Regions from separate parts of the Homo sapiens genome. Here region 2 is linked to region 1. Evidence: promoter capture Hi-C in 16 types of primary human blood cells and fetal thymus (Javierre and others, 2016). All regions are on one chromosome and are shown on one strand. Each heading gives the region's core, a stretch centred on a gene start or on the middle of the fragment in contact. The rest is flanking DNA. Distances are from core to core; before and after follow the strand shown.

Region 1 (2,774 bases), core at 137-2,636:
GCTGTATTCTGATAGAAGGCCTGCAGAGGTGTTAAAGCAAGGACTGATACAATTAGGTGATTAAGTCTGTTTAAAAAGATTGACAGGTCAGGGGAGAAGAGCGGCACACGGAGGTGAAAGGAGACAGAGATGAGGACCAAGTCATGAGACTGTCATGACTGCCTTTCATGATACTGGAATACAGTTGAGGGGGTGAAGCGAAGAGAAAAGGAATCCAGGGAAGAAACGTAAAGTCAGGAGGGCAGCAAACTAGGGCATCAGGGCCAGCCCCCTTTCTCAACTGGGCCCCACGCTAGTGCAGCTATGGAAGGCGCTGCTTGCTGAAAAATCCATATAGTACGCACCGTCTGCAAAGTCTCACCGGATGGGGACACTCTCCTAGTTGTGTGGCTTCCTTTTGTTTATGAGCTTCAAAGGCTGAATTACTCACCCTCAAACCCCCTCAGCGGGGTGTGGGGCCTGTAATTTGGGAGCGTCTATGCTAGGGTAGGGCAGCGGATGTCCACAAGGCCTGAGCCTCACACCCGGCTCCTGCAGCCTCTGCAGATTAAGGTCTGGTGACATGAGGTAAACACTCACTGAAGATGCTCTAAAAGTTGGCAGTCCCGGGCCGATGGTCCCTGAACTACAATTCCCACAATCCATTGGCGGGCGGGGGGTTCCAAGCCAGCCAAAAAAATGCAGGCTCTCTCTGGATGCAGTTTGAGGTGGCACTACACGTTCGCTTCCTTGACCCCATCCAAATTCAGCCAAGCTCCACCAGAACCTCCCTCAAGCCTTCAAGGAGGTCGGGTGACCCACCCAATACAGGCTAGGATGTCCGGCCTAGAAGAAGGAGGTGTGGCCGGGCGATGCCTATAGGGGCTACCCCCTTCAAATACCTTCGCATTTGCTGGGCAAGCGTTCTGTGTCATCGTCCTCCTCCTTCAACATCCCAGCCCAAGCCTCGTGCACGGCCAAAAAAAGGAAAAGCAATATTCCCAACCGCACAGGTCCCATGACAAAGCGCCGTCTACAAACAATCACCGCTTGCCTTCAACTTCGGGAAGGTAGTGTGGGTCCCTTAAATTCCCAGGCGGCTAGCGGCAACCTTAAATCCAGCCGAGGAAGGTCGGCGCATGCGCAGGATCAGCCCAACAAGGGTGGGGCCTCGTTGCTACGGGTTTCCCTGCCTCCGTTTTGTGGCGCCTCTTGAAGGTCCTGGCAGCCGGGTAGTGAAGGAATAAATTGCAGTAATTACACCAAGAGGGAGTGCTCCTTATATATAGATGTAGAAACAAACTTTTAAAATATAATTTCATTCTGCGAGCCTAGAGGACTTATTCTGGTACGGGGAAGGGGCAGTGACTTGCTCTTAGGCTCTGCCAGGACCTGCTCCCACGAGGGGGCGGGGCCAAGATGGCGCCGAGCGCCGGGTGAGCAGCGTCTCGGCTGCCGCTAGAGTTTTCCTGCTCCCCGCGCTCGGGTGGCGGGGGCGGGTCTGAGTGGTACCCCGGAGGAGACCCTTTGAAGGTCCCTTGTGGGGACTGGAAAGAGGACGGTTGGTTGTGTGTCTGTGCTCGTGGGGACCCCGTGTGTGTGCCTGCATTGGAGAGATGTTGCAGGAGATGGGGTGGGCTCTCTGAACCTCCTTTCGCGCTGCCCGGGGATCTTCGACCTGCTTCTCTGCTGGGATCTCGCTTAAGTTAACCCTTCCCTGGGACGCCTTCCTGCCGCCTCCACTGATCTGAGGAGATCCTGTGACTGTAGCGTGTTTTATGAGCCTTTACTGGCAGAGGGTACCGCCGGGTATTGAAGGATTCGTAGGAGTTCGCCAGGGAAGTGGGACACGACCCCCTCTTGTAAACCCGGCGCCAGGCACAGAGTATGTCTCGAATAGTTGTGTTCCCTATAGATAAGACTTATAAAAGTCGGGGAGGAGATCAGGGATGGTTTGAAAAGAACCAATTTGTTTTTCGGCCTCCCTCTTCCCATCCTTCCAGCACGGCCCCACCCTACCTGTACTACTCCTAAGCAGTATTGATATGTTAATCTTCCTAATGTCCAACTGCAAGTGTGCCACTTTAATTTTTTTTTGTTTTTTTTTTGAGACAGGGTTTCCGTCTGTTACCCAGGCTGTTGTGCAGTGGCACCATCTTGGCTCACTGCAGCCTCCAACTCCTCAGTTCAAGCGATCCTCCTGCCTCAGCCTCCTAAGTAGCTGGGATGACAGGTTCACACCACCAGGTCCGTCTAATTTTTTAATTTTTGCAGAAATGGGGGTCTCACTATGTTGACCAGGCTGTCTCAAACTCCTGGCCTCAAACAATCCCCCCACCTCTGCCTTCCAAAGTGCTGGGATTACTGGGGTGAGTTACCTCTCTTGGCTCCAATTTGCTTTTTTTTTTTTTTTGAGATGGAGTCTCTCTCTATCGCCCAGGCTGGAGTGCAGTGGCACGATCTCGGTTCACTGCAACCTCCGCTTCCTGGTTCAAGCGGTTCTCCCACCTCAGCCTCCCAGATAGCTGGGACTACAGGCGCCCGCCACCATGTCTGGTTAATTTTTGTGTTTTTACAAAAAGACAGGGTTTCACCATGTTGGCCAGGGTGGTCTCGAACTCCTAACCTCAGGTGATCTTCCCGCCTTGGCCTCCCAAATTACAGGCGTGAGCCACTGCACCTGGCTCCACTTTGCTTTTTTTGTTTTTTTTTTTTTTTTGAGACAGAGTCTGGCTCTGTTGCCCAGGCTGGAGTGCAGTGGTGCGATCTCGGCTCACTGCAAGCTCCGCCTCCCG
Region 2 (2,774 bases), core at 135-2,634, 140 kb after region 1:
CCTGCATCCATCCATTTAAATAGGTAAGGGGACACCCATTGTCTCAGCCTGTATGACTGCCATCCATCCTCTACATAATCTAACAAATAATTAAACTCTGAGCATGAGGTATTTTTGCTGGAGCAATCTTGCCAATAATGCCCTTTTGGAGCCCAATCAATAACAATACCTGCGGCTAGACTTTGGAGCACAACGGCCTTAGGAGCATTACAATTATTCCATAAAATTGAAGTCACTATAAAAGGTCCCTTTGTAGGTTTCTTTAACCAAAAGAGAGGCTGGGCACAGTTGCTCACACTAGTAAACCCAGCACTTTGGGAGACCGAGGCGGGCAGATCACGAGGTCAGGAGTTCAAAACCAGCTTGGCCAACATGGTGAAACCCCTGCCTCAGCTTCCTGAGTGCTGGGATTATAGGCATGTGCCACCACGCGCAGCTAATTCTTGTATTTTTTCAGTAGAGACGAGGTTTCATCATGTTGCCCAGGCTGGTCTCGAGTACCTGACCTCAACCTGAGGTGATCCAACCACCTCAGCCTCCCAAAGTGCTGGGATTACAAGCATGAGTCACCGCACCCGGGCCCCAGTCACTTTAGAATAGCATGTTGCTTTGTATTCGGAGGGTCTCTCTGCAAATAGCCCATCAACACTGAGCGTGCCTGGAAAGACCTGGTTTTCAAATAACTGGCTTCGTCTGTGTAAAACGAGTCTTGTTGTATGCATTAAAAATTATCTTGGCTGGGCGTGGTGGCTCACGCCTTTAATCCCAGCATTTTGGGAGGCTCGTTCTGTTGCCAGGGAGGCTGCAAAAGGAGGATGCGGCTATTTCTGCTTCCATCATGGAAGGCTGGGATTCCACAGGCACAGAAAGGAAGGAGGGAGAGATGGGAATGTGACTGTCCTCCAGACACAGCCTCTGGCAGGATCGGATGTGGGAGAGTGAGGGTCCCACCCCAGCTGGGGTCTACCCAGGTCCATGTCTTGGACATGTTGAGAGTTTTTCTGGAAGGCAGGGATACAGTGTGGTCCAAAAACACACAAATGCCCCTACTGGCCCAGGGGTTGTCACAATAGACTGGAAGGGTGACACATCCCAGGCGCTTGCCACCCATCACACGCACCTCCTACCCACTGGCATCCTTCCACCCCAGGCACACACAAAGCCTCAGTCCAGAGATCAACTCTGGACTCAGCTCTGAATTTGCATATCCTGTGTGTAGATTCATTCTTCATAACCTCTGCCCAGCCTAGCTTGTGTATCATTTTTTTTTCTCTATTAGGGGAGGAGCCCGTCCTGGCACTCCCATTGGCCTGTAGATTCACCTCCCCTGGGCAGGGCCCCAGGACCCAGGATAATATCTGTGCCTCCTGCCCAGAACCCTCCAAGCAGACACAATGGTAAGAATGGTGCCTGTCCTGCTGTCTCTGCTGCTGCTTCTGGGTCCTGCTGTCCCCCAGGAGAACCAAGATGGTGAGTGGGGAAAGCAAGGGATGGGTGCTGGAGAGGACTGGAAGGAGGTGAGGAACAGGACATGTGGCTGGGAGACAGGCTGGATGCAGCTGGGATACCCTGGCATACGGCAGGAATGGGTGCCCAAGGCTGTCAACTCCCTCAGCTCACACACTTCCAGGAGCATTCAGGGAGCCTCTGCGCTGGCCCGAAATAAGACCTTCAGGAATCTGAATCTAAAACCCCTAGTTTACAGTGAAAACAAAGACTCCAAAGACCAAGCGACCTGCTTGGGGTAGACAGTCAGGACGGAGTAGGAACCATATGCCTGGAGCTGCTTCTGCTCCTGTTCCTTCCCTCCTTCCGATGGCTGGGTACACCTGCCTGACGCTGAGGGAAAGAGAGAGCAGCCCCAAGGGGAAAGTGGGAAGGCAGGTTGGCTGGAGGGATGGTGCTAGAAGGAAACCCGTGCCCAAATCCCACACTCAGACACCACTGCAGTGGGTCTGGAAGGCGAGTGGCTGGAAGAGAAGAGAGTGGGAGCTCCGGGAGATCAAGAGTCACTCCTAGGATAAGGGAAGGAGGCTGTTTGTGGCATGAGAATGTGCAGGATAAAGACATGGAAGCGAATGGCTTCTCAGTTGTGTGAGTTTAAAATTCATGACATTTACAAATTGTCAGAAAAGGTGTTATATGTTTGTTATATAACAATCACTTTGGAATGTTAATCTGATTCTGTGCCAAAATCTGAATTACTCAGGGTTCTCCAGAGAAACAGAACTAATAGGTGGTACACATATACATATATATGTACGTACACATACATACATACACTGTATACACATGGATACACACACACATAGGAAGAGATTTACATATATGTATACAAAAGAGAGAGAGAGTAGAGATTTATTTTAAGAAATTGACTCACACTATTGGGAGGAGTAACAAGTCCTAAATCTTCAGAGCCGGCCAGCAGGCTGGAGACCCAGGGAAGAGTTGATGTCTTAGTCTTGATTCCAAGGGCAGACTGTAGGCAGAATTCTTTCCTCTTTAGGGGACATCTGAGGCTTTTTCTCTTAAGGCCTTCAACTGATTGGATGAAGCCCACCACTATGGAGAGTAATCCACTTTACTCAAGGTCTACTGATTTTTTTGTAAATTAAAAAAAAAACTGTGGGTGCATAGTATGTGTATATATTTATGGGGTACATGAGAGGTTTTGATTCAGGCATGCAATGTGAAATAATCACATCATCAAAAATGAGGTATCCATCCCTTCAAGCTTTTATCGTTTGTGTTACAGACAATCCAATTATACTTTT

What was found. The method cuts DNA at HindIII sites, captures the fragments that hold promoters and counts their contacts. A CHiCAGO score of 5 or more calls a contact.
Region 2: a contact is called between the fragment with the promoter of AZGP1 here and the fragment with the promoter of TAF6 in region 1, in 1 of 17 cell types (neutrophils). The highest score is 9.8, in neutrophils.

Annotation. Positions count from the first base shown.
Region 1 is chr7:100,117,970-100,120,743 of GRCh38, reverse strand. TAF6 (TATA-box binding protein associated factor 6) reads left to right here and starts at 1,386. Exons shown (of 15, transcript NM_139315.3): 1 at 1,386-1,540. CNPY4 (canopy FGF signaling regulator 4) reads right to left here and starts at 1,110. Exons shown (of 6, transcript NM_152755.2): 1 at 882-1,110. The coding sequence starts at 999. RefSeq lists enhancers at 414-483, 854-1,073, 1,284-1,433. The HindIII fragment of the contact is 7,272 bases long and covers 1-2,774 here.
Region 2 is chr7:99,974,641-99,977,414 of GRCh38, reverse strand. AZGP1 (alpha-2-glycoprotein 1, zinc-binding) reads left to right here and starts at 1,384. Exons shown (of 4, transcript NM_001185.4): 1 at 1,384-1,470. The coding sequence starts at 1,395. The HindIII fragment of the contact is 13,516 bases long and covers 1-2,736 here.